Regions from separate parts of the Homo sapiens genome. Here all the other regions are linked to region 4. The links are contacts of gene promoters, found by promoter capture Hi-C in blood cells and fetal thymus (Javierre and others, 2016). All regions are on one chromosome and are shown on one strand. The core of a region is centred on a gene start or on the middle of the fragment in contact, and the rest is flanking DNA. Distances in the headings are between cores, read along the strand shown. Region 1 overlaps FAM118B (family with sequence similarity 118 member B). Region 2 has its middle 13 kb from the start of RPUSD4. Region 3 holds the start of FEZ1 (fasciculation and elongation protein zeta 1). Region 4 holds the start of PUS3 (pseudouridine synthase 3). Region 5 overlaps FAM118B (family with sequence similarity 118 member B). Region 6 has its middle 18 kb from the start of FEZ1.

Evidence for each region. Contacts are between HindIII fragments. The CHiCAGO score rates a contact against its expected background, and 5 or more counts as called.
Region 1: a contact is called between a fragment that was not itself captured here and the fragment with the promoter of PUS3 in region 4, in 7 of 17 cell types (fetal thymus, naive CD4 T cells, non-activated CD4 T cells and 4 more). The highest score is 10.0, in fetal thymus.
Region 2: a fragment that was not itself captured here is called in contact with the fragment with the promoter of PUS3 in region 4 in 15 of 17 cell types (naive CD4 T cells, endothelial precursors, fetal thymus and 12 more); the score reaches 18.5 in naive CD4 T cells.
Region 3: a contact is called between the fragment with the promoter of FEZ1 here and the fragment with the promoter of PUS3 in region 4, in 1 of 17 cell types (total CD8 T cells). The highest score is 6.0, in total CD8 T cells.
Region 5: a contact is called between a fragment that was not itself captured here and the fragment with the promoter of PUS3 in region 4, in 4 of 17 cell types (activated CD4 T cells, non-activated CD4 T cells, naive CD4 T cells and 1 more). The highest score is 5.6, in activated CD4 T cells.
Region 6: a contact is called between a fragment that was not itself captured here and the fragment with the promoter of PUS3 in region 4, in 1 of 17 cell types (total CD8 T cells). The highest score is 5.1, in total CD8 T cells.

What each region holds. Positions count from the first base shown.
Region 1 is chr11:126,258,270-126,260,969 of GRCh38, forward strand. All of the region lies in intron 7 of FAM118B (family with sequence similarity 118 member B), which reads left to right. It also overlaps a transcript of SRPRA not described here. Among named protein-coding and RNA genes, the nearest start is that of SRPRA, 9.3 kb to the right of the region's middle. The HindIII fragment of the contact is 5,808 bases long and covers 1-2,700 here.
Region 2 is chr11:126,196,928-126,199,627 of GRCh38, forward strand. No RefSeq gene overlaps it. Among named protein-coding and RNA genes, the nearest start is that of RPUSD4, 13 kb to the right of the region's middle. The HindIII fragment of the contact is 5,671 bases long and covers 1-2,700 here.
Region 3 is chr11:125,494,967-125,497,666 of GRCh38, forward strand. FEZ1 (fasciculation and elongation protein zeta 1) reads right to left here and starts at 1,299. Exons shown (of 10, transcript NM_005103.5): 1 at 1,155-1,299. It overlaps LOC403312 (putative uncharacterized protein MGC39545), which reads left to right and starts at 248. Exons shown (of 2, transcript NR_164146.1): 1 at 248-649; 2 at 1,542-2,700. RefSeq lists enhancers at 357-860, 861-1,362 and a silencer at 1,237-1,486. The HindIII fragment of the contact is 4,219 bases long and covers 1-2,700 here.
Region 4 is chr11:125,901,829-125,904,528 of GRCh38, forward strand. It overlaps PUS3 (pseudouridine synthase 3), which reads right to left and starts at 1,378. Exons shown (of 4, transcript NM_031307.4): 1 at 1,342-1,378. It overlaps DDX25 (DEAD-box helicase 25), which reads left to right and starts at 2,680. Exons shown (of 12, transcript NM_013264.5): 1 at 2,680-2,700. The coding sequence starts at 2,690. The HindIII fragment of the contact is 3,679 bases long and covers 1-2,090 here.
Region 5 is chr11:126,232,793-126,235,492 of GRCh38, forward strand. It overlaps FAM118B (family with sequence similarity 118 member B), which reads left to right. Exons shown (of 9, transcript NM_024556.4): 3 at 2,203-2,295. The coding sequence starts at 2,210. Among named protein-coding and RNA genes, the nearest start is that of FAM118B, 22 kb to the left of the region's middle. The HindIII fragment of the contact is 4,780 bases long and covers 1-2,700 here.
Region 6 is chr11:125,512,520-125,515,219 of GRCh38, forward strand. No RefSeq gene overlaps it. Among named protein-coding and RNA genes, the nearest start is that of FEZ1, 18 kb to the left of the region's middle. The HindIII fragment of the contact is 286 bases long and covers 1,204-1,489 here.

The DNA.
Region 1 (2,700 bases), core at 118-2,617, 360 kb after region 4:
CCAGCTGCTTGGGAGGTTGAGGCAGGAGGATCACTTGAGCCCAGGAGTTGGAGTCTGCAGTGAGCTATGATTGCATCACTGCCCTACAGTCTGAGCAATAAAGCAAGACGCTGTTTCTAAAATAAATAACATACAGGTAATTTAATAAACATAAAGCAGTTTTCCTAAATCAAATCATCCCCAGATTTCTTAACTGAATCAGATGGCTTCAAGTAGAATTCTCCTGTAATGAAAAATTACACAGCTTCTTCCATGGCTATGCTTTGATGGAACCAGACTTTTAAAAGCCATCACCACATGAACAAGTCTCATTTGTGAAAACTATTTACTATTCTTTGTTGGAAATGAGTTTTTCTGGTGTCCTGCAGTGTTCTAGACTCTCCTGCTGTTGTTTGCCCACACTTGAGACTTTGAGAAGGCTTTTCTGTTGCACATGTTGTTTTCATTAACAAGACATACATATCCAAGTTCTACATATTTCTTTTGATCTATATGCTGAGGAAAGATGCTAAAGTTTAAAACAGCAAAATCCGTCTGCATAACTGTTTCTGTTGCACTAAATCTTAGCAAAAAATAAATATGTCTTTAGACTGTTGCATTACATAACAAAGAAGCAGTAAGGTTCCTTAGTGCACTAAGATTGCTCTAAGGAACCTTAACTGCTATTGTGGAATGGCACAAATTCTTTTATTAGCTGTGTAGGCTTCCTACCAGAGTAGCTTTCCCCGAAGTTACCCATCATTAAGGTGTTCTGTATCTTTAAACAAAATCAAGGATTTTCAGTATGGCCAGAGTGCTTTATGGGAATGGTCAGCTGAGTTTGTCATGTGAAATGTAGTAGAGCAGTTTCAGGTTAAAACATCATTTCATTTTGAAACGAGTCAACCTTATCTTTCACCCTTGCATAATGTTTTGAGTCTCTGTAGATATAGACTAATGAGAGGTTACAGGTCTTTTGCTGTTATTTTGTTTTTTAACACTGAACCTTTGCTATGTGCCTGGCATTGTGCTGTATACTCACTTTTGCATAGTGGAAATTAATTGTCTTCAAAGGATTCTATAGTATGTAGTTACACATATTTTGGAAAAATCAAGCAGTGGGAAAAAGAAAAATAATTCTTATAATCCATTACCATACAAGCAGTCGTTGTGGTACTTTTTTTTTTTTTTTTTTTGAGATGGAGTCTCGCTCTGACGCCAGGCTGGAGTGCAGTGGCACAATCTCGGCTCACTGCAACCCCCGCCTCCTGGGTTCAAGTGATTCTCCTGCCTCAGCCTCCTGAGTGGCTGGAACTATAGGCGCCCACCACCATGCCCGGCTAATTTTTTGTATTTTTAGTAGAGATGGGGTTTCACCATGTTGGCCAGGATGGTCTCGGTCTCCTGACCTCATGATCCACCCGCCCTGGCCTCCCAAAGTGCTGGGATTACAGGCGTGAGCCACCATGCCCGGGCCTATTTATTGATTTGAGATGGAGTTTCTCTCTGTCACCCAGGCTAGAGTGCAGTGGCGCAATCTCAGCTCACTGCAAGCTCTGCCTCCTGGGTTCACGCCATTCTCCTGCCTCAGTCTCCCGAGTAGCTGGGACTAAAGGCGCCCGCCACCACACCCGGCTAATTTTTTGTATTTTTAGTAGATACAGCGTTTCACTGTGTTAGCCAGGATGGTCTCGATCTCCTGACCTCGTGATCCACCCACCTCAGCCTCCCAAAGTGCTGGGATTACAGGCGTGAGCCACTGTGCCAGCTTTATTTTTATTTTATTATTATTACTATTTTTGATACAGGGTCTTGCTTTTTCACCCAGGCTGCAGTACAATGGCACAGTCATGGCTCACCACAGCCTTGACCTCCCCGGGCTCAGGCGATCCTCCCACCTCAGCCTCCCGAGTAGCTGAGACTAAAGGCACATACCACAATGCCCAGCTAATTTTTGTATTTTTTGTAGAGATGGGGTTTCGCCATGTTGCCCAGGCTGTTCTCAGTCTCCTAAGTGCAAGCAATCCTCCCACCTCAGCTTCCCAAAGTTCTGGGATTATAGGTGTGAGCCACAGCACCTGGCCTTGGCACATTTCTGATGAAGTTTTCCCTGTGCTTTTTTTCATAGTTGTAAACAAAATATAGTGATTTTTTTTTTTTTTTGGTCCTTTGAAAATTCAGTAGTGGATTGTACATTTTCCCACATCCCTATCTTCATAACCACTATTTTAATTGACTTTTATATTCCAGTAGGGGTGTTACAGTTTACCTAATTATTCCTGTTAGGCAACGTCTGATATTTTTTTTGCCAGTTTTTTGTAAGTCATGTTGTGAAAATAACATCTGTATCTCTTCAGTTTTTCCAGTAATTTCCTTGATGAGTTCTCACTGTAATCAGGTCAAAGATCAGGAACATTTCAGTAATTTATAAATACTGCTAAATTGTTTTCTACGAGGGTAATATCAATTTGTATATTTGAGTACCATGCCTGTTTATACTGTAATTGACCATATTTCTAATGACTATTTTCTTCCATGTGTTCAGCTTTTTACTTTTTCTGAACTATTATCTATGCCAAGTGTTATCCAGTAGAATTTCCTGCAGTCATAAAAATACTGTATAATCTTCACTGTCTAGTATCATAGTTAGGAGCCACATGTGGCTGGTGCACCGTTGAAATGTGGCCAGTGTGACTGAGGAATGGAATTTTTAATTTGAAA
Region 2 (2,700 bases), core at 131-2,630, 300 kb after region 4:
GCTTCTTGCCTGAAAGGATCCTAAGGCCACAACCAACAGGGGCATCTATGCAGACAGCCACCTAGGCTGGTCACTCGCTGGGGGACAGCAAGATGAAGGGATCCCTAAGAGAGGACATCAAGAGACGCCTAAGGGAGTGGGGGATGGAGAGGAAAACTCAGAGTTCTATAATAATTTGCCTTGCTTTCGTCCTTGGTTCCTGGGAGAGAGAACCTAAATCCTTGGAATTTCCCAAGTGATGTTAACATTTTTTGTTATTCATGATGAGCCCTAATAGTTTACGCTATTAAATGTGAGGACTCACGGTGGGGCTTTAGTTTCAGGATGGGTAGTTTCAGGCTGGCCATGCAAAAAGACCGACCATGTGATTAGAGGGTTGGCACTTTGAACCCAGCAGAACCGAGTTCAACAATGTAGCCAATTGTTCAACCACGACAACATAATGAAACCCCAATAAAAACTCTGGACACCAGGGCTTGGGTGACATTCCTGGCTGGTGATGCACATCCATGTGTTGGGAGGGTGACACGGTGGGCAGAGGACACGGTAGCTTCATGCTGGAGACTCTCCCAGACCTTGCCCATGCATCTCTTCTTTTAGCTGGTCCTGATTCATATCATTTTATTGCTACAGCAAAACCATAATAGTAAGCATAGCTAGTGCTTTGCTGAGTTCTGGGAGTCATTCTAGTGAATGATCAAACCTGAGGGGTTTGTGAACACTCTTGAATTCATAGCTAGTTGGTCAGAAGTACAGGTGGCTGGAAAACCCCAGAGCTTGCAGCTGGTGTCTGAAGTGAGGCAAGTCCTGTGGAATGTGCCATTAACTTGTGACATCTGGCCTAACGCTGGGTAGCTGGTGTTTGAATTACATTGCCCTGAGCCAGCAGATTTTGCTCCGCACTGGGAGAAGCTGTCTGCACCCACATGGCATGCTTTGCACAAGCACAAGCAGGAGGCCATGTTTTTGTATATCCTACCAGGCACTCTGGCTAAAAGCAGTCCAGAGAGCCAAGGAGAGCAGACCTAGAAAACATGGTGGGAGGCTGCTCTATTTGCCTGTCTTGTTTAAAACAGGTACCCCCTCCCACACTGCTCTATCCCCAGGAACCTGGGGATGGTCTCAACACCCCGTTGTGAGTTTGGTTTCTGGTGGGAACTAGCAGGTTGCCTATGATCCTATTTCTAACCCACTATGCCCTTCCACCTCCCAGACCTATCCCATCATAGCTGAAGGGTGGGGACGGTGAAATTGGTGCTCAGGAGATATTAGAATTAAAGAGGGAAGTGCATTTTAAGAGAAGGGTTTTAGATGGAACTGGCAAAGAATTAGTGGCTAATTGGATTTGGGGACTGGTGCGAGGGAGGAGTTAAGGGTGATTCCCAGGTCTCTGGTGATGCCATCTAAACTAAGGCAGGTAAGAGGACAGGAGCAACAGGCCCGGAGAGGGAGCTCCCAAGGGGAGACGATCACAGGCAGATGGATGTGAAGATAAGGAGCTCAAGGGGGAGATCAAGGTCAGAGACAGACTAGCGAGTCGTCAGCACACAGGTAGAGGCTTCCCAAGTTGGCCCAGCTCTCCCTCTGGGAGAGGGGCAGGATGCCAAGATGGAGCTCTGGGGGGCACCATGCTGGGGCCCTTCAAGGAGCCTGGAAGGAGGTCAGACAAGGAGATGCAGGAGGAGTTCATGGAATCAAAGCGAGTGAGGAGCTCAGAGTGGGCAATTCGGTTATCAAATGCAAAGACGTGTGATACGAGGATTGAGAAAGTGCTCTGTGGGCTTATTAGGTTGGGCATGCCTAGCACAGAAAAAAACCAGCTACCCAAAAGCTGCCTCCTGGAGCAGAAGAGCCAGTGCTGCCACCAGAAGGGGCACTGGGAGAGCCGGCCTCCCCCCTCTGCTGAGCACAAGCACCTCCCAGAGCTCACAGCAAACAAAATCCCTACGTGGGCAAGGAGCTGCTGCTTTTCATGGCAAGCCTTTAGTTCTTGATTTTTCATTTTGATTTTTTCTTATTCTTTTTTTAACCAGAGTCATTTGAGCAGAATAGTTCTTGATTTTTTAAATCATGTGCACATAGAACTTTGATAAAAATAGAAATTTAAGAAGCCCATTTTCTTATACTAATTACTGTATATGACTTAACACTAAATCATATCTTTTAGCTGGCTCTAATCAGTATTTCAAAATAGATGCAGTTCATTTTAGGCACATTCCAACCTCCTTTGCTGTGTAACCCATTTCTCAGGCCACACTAACCTGGGGTAAAATTCCTCTTATATTATTGTCAGTAATTAAAGATAGCCACTGGGCCAGGCACGGCGGCTCATGCCTGTAATCCCAGCACTTTAGGAGGCTGAGGCAGGTGGATCACCTGAGGTTGTGAGTTTGAGACCAGCCTGACCAACATGGAGAAACCCCATCTCTACTAAAAATACAAAATTAGCCGGGCATGGTGGCACATGCCTGTAATCCCAGCTACTCGGGAGGCTGAGGCAGGAGAATCGCTTAAACTCGGGAGGCAGAGGTTGTGGGGAGTGGAGATCACGCCATTGCACTCCAGCCTGGGCAACAAGAGTGAAATTCTGTCTCAAAAAAAAAAAAAAAAAAAAAAAAAAGATAGCCACTGTACCTAGCAAGACCTGCTGCTCAGGCAGTCCAGATCCCACTAAGAATCAGAGAAATGTTAATCCTTTCT
Region 3 (2,700 bases), core at 49-2,548, 410 kb before region 4:
ATATCCGTCCCTAAAACCTACCCTGCACTGATCCACCTTCAGATTTCCCACTGCTCCTCCGCAGAACCCACCCAGTGTGCATGTTTGTGCACATTTTGACAGAAAAAGTATTTCGTTGCATATGGATCAGCAACCCCTTCGCGGTTCTGCTTGCTCCCCTCCCCCTCCTCCCGCTGCTCCATTCACCTCCATCTCAGATCCCCCTCCTCCCCCCAGTCCGGTGGGGTAAAGAAAGCCTCCTCCAGGCAGCACAATGGCTGGCACTCTGAGGAAGCCGGACTCATCCCGTGCAGGCCGCATACACACTCCACTGCCCTTCCGGCCAAACAAGCCCGGACACGGGAGAGGGATGAGAGTCGGGGATGCCTAGCGGCGAGGAGAGAAGGGATAGGCAAAAGGGAAGAAGAGCGGGCTGTGATACCTCCTCGACGCCGTCAAACACTGCTCCCCGCATTCCAGAGCCCGGGGCCCACCCGACGGCAGCGCGCCCCGCCACCGCGCAGCCGCCCCGGTCCCTTCTCCCGCCCGTCTGTAGTAAAACAATCGCTCTCCCGGCGTCTGCGGCCGCTGCCAGCGGTTCTGACACTGCAGGAATGCGCGGTCTGGGGAAGGCTCCGCACTCTGGGGAGGGGCACGAGCGGGGTCGGGGGTAAGTTTTTAGGGACAAAGATGATCTTGGGGCGTTTACGGTGACTGGACCAGATAACGGTCCCGGGACGAGGTACCGACCCACTGCCCCAGCGCGATCGGGCGGCGTTCCCTTCTTCCCCCAGCCCCCATACCTCGCCGCCCTGCCTTCACACGCGCGCACACACGCGGGCACACACACGCGGACACACACACACACACACACACACACACACACACACCAGGCCTGGCTGGAGGGCCGATGCTGAGATGATACTGGAAGTGCCCATCATCCCACATCTCCAGGGCCTGGCGCGGCGTCCCAGCTGCGCTCCCTGAAGGGCTGGGCAGGAAGGCGACGGCCTCCCGTTGTTCCTTTCTAATCCCAGAATGGGACCAGGTGAGGGGAGCTGCGGCGACCCCAGACCGTCCTGTCAGAGAATCCCGGGGCCTCCTTACCACCCCCACCAGACCCCACCCCCAGCAGTGAGTCGGGTCCTAACTAAAGTCAACCCCCGCGACGGCACCTGTGCGGGTCCTGGCGGAGGGAGGCGGATCCCGGGGCTCAGCCGGACACCCCCATCCACGGGCCGCGGGAGCGGCCGGAGCGCAGCGCAGCGCAGCGGAGAGCCAGCCAGCCAGCCAGCCAGCGAGCGCTCCCCGCGCAGCTCCGGCGGCGCCCGGCTCCGCTCCCGCCTCCACCCCACCCCTTCCCCGCGCTCGTGCCCGGGCTCCGGGGGCGCGCCCGCGCTCGGGCACCCACCCAACTGGCACGCGCGGGAGCTGGACGTCATCCCCTCGTTAACATTCATAGCCTTCCTCCGAGCACGTGGGCTTGCCTTTATTAATATTTATGCATTTCTGTTTCTCTCCTCTTTAACATTGGCCTTTCTGCTTCCCTCATGAATATTCAGAAACTCCAAGATGAAAGCGTGCAATAACTACCAATATGGATACCTCGCAAAGCCTGACACTAGTTTCTGGATAAAATGCAGGCGATGGCTGCTGGCGGATGCCGGCAGACACACTCAAAGACCCTTTTGGACTTTCCGAGTTTCCCATTCTCCTCTACTGGAGGCTGAGGCGGGCAGGCCCAGCGACGTCTCCCAGCTCCAACTGGGTTCGGACCTCAAGCCAAAAATGAGGAGGCCGGCAGGAGAGCTTTTCTCGCCCAAAGATGCTGGGTGGGAGCTGGATCCAGCTGAAAAATCTGAGTGAGAAGGTTTCAGGCCCAGGAGGACTTGAGATAATACAGGAAAATTCAAGAGGCTGAAATGAGAAGGGTCCCTGGAGTCTTGTGAAAAATTATTAATTTATCTTGTCTACTGTGCATAGGCCTGTGCTTATAGAAGTTGTCAATAAAAAATCTAATAATTCACGAATACACACAACTAAGAGCACAAGAACTGTAATTATCGAAGGAAGGCACTGGAAAAAGCATGTCGGCTTGGAGAACCCCAAGTACTTTTGTCTGATGGCAAAGTACCTCTGGGCTGAACTGAGGACTTCAACTGGAAGGGGCAGGGAGCGTCTCTTTTGCTCGTTTATGCATTCATTCCACAGACATTTCAACCATGAGAAGGATGGAAACAGGAATAATGTCCCAATGAGATGAGAAGAAGCGTTGGCCTATTTGCCTTTGTGGGAGCAATAGACAGAGGATGTCTTCCTGTAAGAAATCATAAGGCCAGGCACGGTGGCTCACACCTATAATCCCAACATGTTGGAAAGCTGAGGCAGGAGGATCACTTGAGGCCAGGAGTTCAAGACCAGCCTAGGCAACATAGTGAGACCCCATCTCTATAAAAAAAAAAAAATTAGCCAGGCATGGTGGGCCCATCCTGGTAGCCCATCCTGGTAGCCCCAGCTACACTGGAGGATGAGGTGGGAGGATCGCTTGAGCCCAAGAGGTTGAAGCTGCACTCCAGCCTGGGCGACAGCAAGACCTTGTCTCAAAAGTAAATAAATAAATAAATAAATCACAAAGAGTAGCTGGTTAAAAGATCCCTAGATCTCCTTTCTTGGGATCATGCCCAGTTTTGTGACCTTGGGTTAGTTAACTTCCCTGTGGCT
Region 4 (2,700 bases), core at 128-2,627:
TGAAATTAAGTGACATGAATGTATCATAAACTATACAGGATGATCTCAGTACACACAGGGAAAGATCAAAACCTAACGAGTAGTGGGATTAAAGGTAATTTGTATTTATACCTCGACTTTTTATGAGGTCAAAAATTACATGGTGATTTTAACATGCAAAACACTCCAGTGATTATTTGGATCTCAAAGTCCAACATTACCAAAGTCTCCAAAGTTCAACTCCCGTGCTAACTAAAGAACTAGGCCAGGGAGTGAGTCTAGTTGGTCATAAGGCAGATTTGTGGCAAAAACAGGACTTGGTACACTACAGTGCTTTTTCCAGCACACCTTACCCTAATTCAGGGTGAAGTGCAGGAGTTCCCAAGCAGACGTTTAAAGTAACACCCTGGCCAGGGCTGCGAAGTAACCACAGAGAGGGAATTCGTGTGTCCCCTAAGCACCAATTACAAACTAAAACGGCCATCACCAGATGTTCCATACATTGGGCCAGGCGCCGTGGCTCACGCCTGTCATCCCAACATTTTGAGAGGCCAAGACGGGGTGGTGGCGGGGGGGAGGGGGGGTCGCTCGAAGTCAGGAGTTCGAGACCAACCTGGGCAACACAGCGAGACCGTGTGTTAATTAAAAAATTAAAAACTAGGCTGCCAAGATGGCGCACGCCTGCAGTCCCAGCTAGTTGGAGGCTGAGGTGGAAGGATCGCTTGAGCCCAGGAGGTAGAGGCTGCAGTGAGCAGTGATCACGCCACTTCACTCAGCCTGGGCGACAGTCTTAAAAAAAAAAAAAAAAAAGTCCTAATCTCAGGAACCAGTGGGTTAACACATAAATAGCATTCCTCTTGATAAACTTTATATTAATCCAAAGGGAAGAAGAGGGAGTACTGTCCAAAGGATTAGCAGACACGCACTATGATCACTAGAAAGCAATCGTGGTCTGTATGTAAGGCAATCCCCAAAATAATTTGAAAATTGCTGCCACAGCCTCCCACATACTCCTGGGTTCTCAACTTCTACTGTTTTATGAGCACCCAATTCTAAGTGGGGCAGCAGAGCACTTTTGTACTCCACAGTACAAGTACCACTGAAGCTCCCGTCACAACGGAATTAAAGACGACCCTACTGCGGCGAGTTTCCACCGAGAGCTCCAGAAAGTACCAGGCACAAAAGAAAAATACATGGTCTTAAGCGAGGTCTCATTTCCATACGGCAATGCTTTCCTGAAAAGACCAAAGTATGTGAAAGAGGGCAAAAAGAAGACAACAGACAACCGTTCAGCAGTGTGTCCATTTGTCCCTTCCCCTGTGGAACCCAGAAAGTAACCCACTCCAAAAATCCCACACTTACTTTCCGGCAGCCGGCCGCGCCGCGTTTCCGAGAAAGGAAGCTGTCACTGTGCGTCTTCTGCGCAGGCGCCCGAGCCCTCATGGGAGGTGTAGTCCAAGTTTGTGGGAAATGTAGTTCTGAGAACCGAGCTTGGTGCTAGAATCTACCTGAGGTTTTCTAGTCCAGCTACCGTTTCTCCGCCCACAGGGCAGAATCTGGGCCTGTGGCGGGACAGCAATAAAAGGAGGAATTGTAGTGCTACGCTAAAATAATAGAAAAAAGGTAATTTTTCAAATTCTGCTATCCTTATACGAAAACTAAAAGATTGAAGATCTTGGCTCGATTTTATACCTAGTTAAATGAGAAGAAAGTTACCATTGAGAGACAAAAACATTTACTATTAGAATTCAAATTAAAAGCTGAAATGAATATGATAATCTCAAAACAAACGACTAGGTGCCCTGAGAGTGACCGAACAGAGCGGGGAGCGTTGCTTCAGCACCACGGAGAGATCATGACTGCAGTTTCGTGTGGGTTTTTGTATTTTTGCCCCCAATTCCAGAAATGCTGATCAAAATCTCAAAATTACAATTAGAAAACTGGGGGGCGGGGGGGAGGTGGAATTTGGTTCTTTCGTCCAAATTGAGCGGTCATTAAATCATTAGTACCAGGGATCCAGGGATCTATACCGGATTATGCAAACGCATGTAGGACGTAGAGGTTATACCGAAAGGTAATGTTTTTAACAAGAGACCACATTTCAGAATAAAAGCTTTAAAAAGCCTATGTGGAACATCACAGGTATCTAGGGCAGGAACAGCAGTTAGAGCTTGAACAGTTCTGCTTCCTTTCCGCAACTGTGGCATTCGAGGTCATTCGTCATATCAAATTCATCAGATTTTGTCTCCACTTTGCTAACCAATTCGCTAACCTTTCTGACATCTTGTGATGTGGAGGCGGAAATTTCCAGGGAAACCGACACGGGGCGTAAAGCGCGGCGGGGAGTCCGGGGGGCTCCCGCCTGGAGGGCTGTGTGAGCGGCGGGCCGCGGGGCGGCGCGGGGGGCGCTCTCCACTCTGCGGAAGCTGCCCCCTCTGCCCTCCGGTCCGCGCCCTTTCGCCCCGCTCTCTGCCCTCCGCCCCGCTCTCTGCCCTCCGCCCCGCTCTCTGCCCCCCGCCCCGCTCTCTGCCCTCCGCCCCTTCCGCGCGCCACCCAGCCTTCCAGCGCCTGCGCGCCGCACCGCGGTGGTCGCGGGCGCGGACGCGGACGCCTGCCCCCTAAGGAAGCCCATTGGCCAGCGGATGGGGCCAGCACCGCCTCGCGCCGGTGGTGGAAGCACGTGCTGGGGGCGGGAGCAGCAATCGCAGCCATGGCGTCGTT
Region 5 (2,700 bases), core at 75-2,574, 330 kb after region 4:
TGTGGAAGAAGTAAACACATTCTACCCCTAGTTCACCATTCTAGAGCGTTGACTTTTAGAATCGGAAGTGAGTCACATAAGTTAAAACTTCATAAAAATATTTTAAGGACACTTAAAACCTGGCTATTGTTATAAGCAAACTGGGAAGTCGTTAGACTGTAATAAGTTATTACACTTAAGGGAAGATGGCTTAATGGTATACTTCATGTGCATCCTATATTTAACAAAATTGTTGCATTGTAGAAAAATTAAGTTTGCATCTTATTTAGGTGTTTCCTATTTGAAGGAAGATTCTGGAGAATCTGATTCTGTAATTTTGGAGTAGAGCCTAGAAACAAACTTTTTTAATTTAATGAATTAACTTTATTTTCAAGAATATATATACTTTTAACAAACATCCCAGCTGGGTGCGGTGGCTCACACCTGTAATCCCAACACTTTGGGAGGCTGAGGCGGGCGGATCACCTGAGGTCAGGAGTTCGAGACCAGCCTGATCAACATGAAGAAATTCTGTCTCTACTAAAAATACAAAATTAGCTGGGCATAGTGGCGCATGCCTGTAATCCCAGCTACTCAGGAGGCTGAGGCAGGAGGATTGCTTGAAGGGAGCAACTGCCAGGAGGCGGAGGTTGCAGTGAGCCGAGATTGCGCCAGTGCACTCCAGGCTGGGCAACAAGAGCAAAACTCTGTCTCAAAAACAAAACAAAACAAAAAACCCAGAAAAACCTACATGGTTGTGTTAAGGCAGGATTTACTGAGATAAGTGACTCATCTGTCTTCTCCTGAGCCCCAGCTTTCTCACCAACAGAATCAAAGATTTGACTGGAAACATGATCTACTTCCTAACTCACTACTGTGACTGTATTATTTCTATTTACCTTATGATTATGATATAAAGAAGAATTACACTGCGTGTGATGGACTATGGGGTGAGGATGTGAGCCTTCTGTTTACCACAAAAAATTAATTCAGAAACTTAGTGTTTTAATAAAGAAAAAGGCTTTTTTGGGCTGGGTGCAGTGGCTCATGCCTGTAATCCCAACATTTTGGGAGGCCAAGGCTGGAAGATTACTTGAGCTCAGGAGTTAGAGACCAGCTGGGCAACATGGCAAAACCCCCTCTCTACAAACAGTACAAAATTCCACCAGATGTGGTAGCATGTGCCTGTAGTCCCAGGTGATGGAGAGGCTGAGGTGGGTTGATCGCTTGAGCCCAGGAGGCCGAGACTGCAGTGAGCCAAGATGGCGCCACTGTACTCTAGCCTGGACAACAGAGCAAGACCCAGTCTCAAAAAAAGAAAAGAAAAGGGCTTTCTAATAAAACAGTAAACTTGCAGTAATTATTAGTAATTCAGTTCTATATGTTGCCAGTGGAATGTACTAAAACACCCCAAACGGTGGTAGTATGTATTGTCTTCTATATTGTGTGTGTGTTTAAAATACTATTACTATTTTTAAATTCACAGTCTTTAGATTTAACAAGTTTGCCAAAGTTTGAGCACTTAGAACTTTATAGTATTCATTCTAATCCATGGTAATTATTTACTTTTGCCAGTTATTCCAGCACCCGAACATAATTGGCCATTTTTCATACATCTTTGCTTGATGATACATTTACCAGTCATCACAGTGGCTTGATTTGAAGTCCACTTCATGTTTAGTTAGAGAGACATGCCCCACTGGCTACAAGGTCACCATCGTCCAACAACAGAGAATGTCATTCAGCAAATTAGTATTGATTGTTCTGTTCTTGACTCAGTAATTTCTTCAGCTGAGAGTAAATGGGTAATTGGGGGCTATTAATACACTTATCTATGGGTGGTTTTTATCCCCTGAGTCTTCCGCAAACCCATCTTGTGGGAGAATAACTGGTTTTTCTTAAGTTCTACAAAGTGATGGCCAGTAATTGACATGAGTTGACACTGTTTTTGGTGGGAACTTGGGGGCAGGCCTTCAGAAACAGAAGCAAGATGGTAGTATGGAGCACCAAAGTCCTATAATTTCCAGATTACTTCTTTTAGACTAATTTAATTTAGCTCCTTGTTTAGAATGTTCATTAATTAACAAATTTCTGTTAAGTAGGGGGCACCTCCAAAACACCTTTAAGGGTATACAGCTTTTTTAAACTGTTTAATATATGTGCTATTTTGAATAGTATACTTTACAGATCTAATTGTGGTTCATGGTGTTTAATCTATTTTAGAAACTGGATGGCTTCTACAGGGAGCCAGGCCTCTGATATAGACGAGATTTTTGGATTCTTCAACGATGGCGAACCTCCCACCAAAAAGCCCAGGTAAACAAGAGAAGGGAATCAGCAGAGTAAATTACCATTAGTGGGAGAGAAAGAAAAATAGCCAACTTATACCTTCTATATCAGTTGTTTTCACTAATTAGTATTGACCTTCATACTCAAAATTAAATTGTTTTTATTTTGGGTTTAATTTTTATTTTTTATCAAGGCAGTACAGGTACATAGTTTTTAAAATCAGTATTTCAAAGTCCGCCCTTCCTCAGAGATAATCACTTTCAACTTTACCTGTTTCTTCTAATGTTGACATCCATGTTTGAAAATACTATATATATTGCTGCTTTTTAGTTTTTTGGTTTTATTGATTTCTGAGTATGGAATATAAGGACTGCTTTGCTCTCATGACTCCTCCCTCTGTATTGCCACTCCACACACTCTCCCCATGTTCTT
Region 6 (2,700 bases), core at 97-2,596, 390 kb before region 4:
AATACATACACACAAAAACGTGTTCACAAATGTACATAGCAGCTTTATTCATCATAACCAAAAAAGTTGAAACAACCTTTTGGGGGTCAGAAAATATGGCATTTTGAAATGCTGAGTACTTTGAACTAAAGAAGCAGCCTCTGGCAGAGTACAATGGCTCACACCTGTAATCCTAGCATTTTGGGAGGCCAAGGTGGGAAGAATTGTTTGAGCCCAGGAGCCTAAGACCAGCCTGGGCTACATAGTGAGATCCTGTCTCTACAAAAAAATTTAAAAATGGGCTGGACATGGTGGCACATGCCTGTGGTCCCAGCTACCTGGGGGGCTGAGGTGGGAGAATCACTTGAGCCTGGGAGGGTGAAGCTGCAGGGAGCTGTAATGGTGCCACTGCACTCCAGCCTGGGTGACAGAACAATATCCTGTCTCAAAAAAACAAACAACAACAAAAAACAACAACAACAAAAAAAAGCAAAACAAAATTTTTTAAAGGAAAGGGCCTCAGAACCAAGGTCTCTCTGACCTTTCCCTGCTTACTATGTCTTGATTCTCTTTTTCTCCCAAAGCATAGGGAAGCACTTTCTCTGACATTTCCTTTATCTGACTAAGAGAAATCCCTCCAGAAGAAATGAAGTGTCATGAACTCACTCCCTGGAATCTATATGATCTCTAAGAGAGGAGACTAAATGTCTCCACATCTAGGACATCATGCCCAGACAGACTTTTCACTTATGCTTCTGAGAGCTACCTGAGAGACTTCTTCTGCATAATAAGACAACCTTTGCTTGCAGTGCTCTTCCTCCCCTCACTCTCCCACAGCTTGTTGCCACCACCCTCCAGGAGTCTTTAAGCTTCTAATTCTTTTTTTTTTTTTTTTTTTTTTTGAGACAGGGTCTCACTCTGTTGTCTAGGTTGGGGTGCAGTGGGTGCAATTACAGCTCACTGTACTCACTGCAGCCTTGATCTCCCTGGTTCAAGTGATCCTCCTACCTCAGCCACCTGAGTAGCTGGAACTACAGGGGCATGCCACCACACCCAGCTAAGTTTTGCATTTTTGGTAGAGATAGGGTTTTGCCACATTGGCCAGGCTGATCTGGAACTACTGGGCTCAAGCCATCCTCCCACCTCAGCTTCCCAAAGTGCTAGGATTACAGGTGTGAGCCACTGTGCCAAGCTAATTTTTTCTGTAGCTCACAATGCTATTTAAGCTTCAACCATCTGGCCCTCCTTTGTGTCTCATATTTTGTGGAACTCCTATACATATGCATGTAATAAATTTGTATGCCTTTTCTCCTGTTAATCTGTCTACTGTCAAGTTTATTCCAGAGATTATCGAGCCTTTAAAGGGTGGAAGGAGAGTTCCTTTCACTCCTACAAACCCAAATGTCCATCAAGGGATAAATGGATAAACAAATTGTGGTATATCCATGCAATGAAATGTCATTCAGCCATAAAAAGAACAAAATACTGATACAATGCTACAACACAGATAAGCTTGAAAGCATTATGTTGAGTGAAAGACAGCAGACACAGAAAGGCACATGGTACGTAATTTCATGTACATGAAATGTCTACATAGTGTCAATTGAAGAAAATGATGAGACAAGTCTCAATCATTTTAGATTTATTTGCCAAAGTTAAGGACGCATCCTGGAGACAGGTCTATGCCTTTCTCTGAAGATGATTTTGAGGCTCCAAATTTAAGGGGGAAAGGGTGGGATATTGAGAAGCACACAGTTTTCACATAAGCAAAAGGGGCAAAGGAAAAATGTGGGGAATCTGCATTTTACATAAGATAACACAGACAAAATGGAGTAGGGGAAAAATCAGATATTCATTTGTGTCTGGCAGGCCTGCACCTGTAAAGATGACCTAACAATTTGCATTGCCATAGTGACGTTTTAACAGCTCACTGGGAATTTCCCCATATTTTGCCCACAAGGAAATTCCTGGTGAGCTGCTAAAACATCACTGTGGCATGCAAATTGATAGGTTATCTTTACAGGTACAGGCCTGCCAGACACAAATGCATATCTGATTTTTGACTTTTCCCTTTGGCTAAATGACTCTGGGGTCCCAAAATGTAATTTCTTTTCACAATAGAAACATAAAGTAGATTGGTGGTTGCCAGGGGCTGTGGAGAGTGACTGCTAACGGATGTGTGGTTTCTTTAGTTTGGCAGGGTGTGTGTGTGGCGGGGGGTGGGATGATGAAAATGCACTAAAATTAAATTGTGGTAGATAGTAAAAGGAAGTAGTTATGTGATTGTTGCACAACTCTGTGACTATACTAAAAGCCACTGAATTGTGTAGTTTAAAAGGGTGGCTGGTTGGGCGTGGTGGCTCACGCCTGTAATCTCAGCACTTTGGGAGGCCGAGGCAGGCGGATCACCTGAGGTCGGGAGTTCAAGACCAGCCTGACCAACACGGAGAAACTCTGTCTCTACTAAAAATACAAAATTAGCCAAATGGGGTGGCACATGCCTGTAATCCCAGCTATTTGGGAGGATGAGACAGGAGAATCACTTGAACCTGGGAGGCGGAGGTTGCAGTGAGCCAAGATTGCGCCATTGCACTCCAGCCTGGGCAACAAGAGCAAAACTCCATCTCAAAAAAAAAAAAAAAAAAAGTGTGGCTGGATGCTGTGGCTCATGCTTATAATCCCAGCACTTTGGAATGCCAAAGCAGGAAGATTGCTTAAATC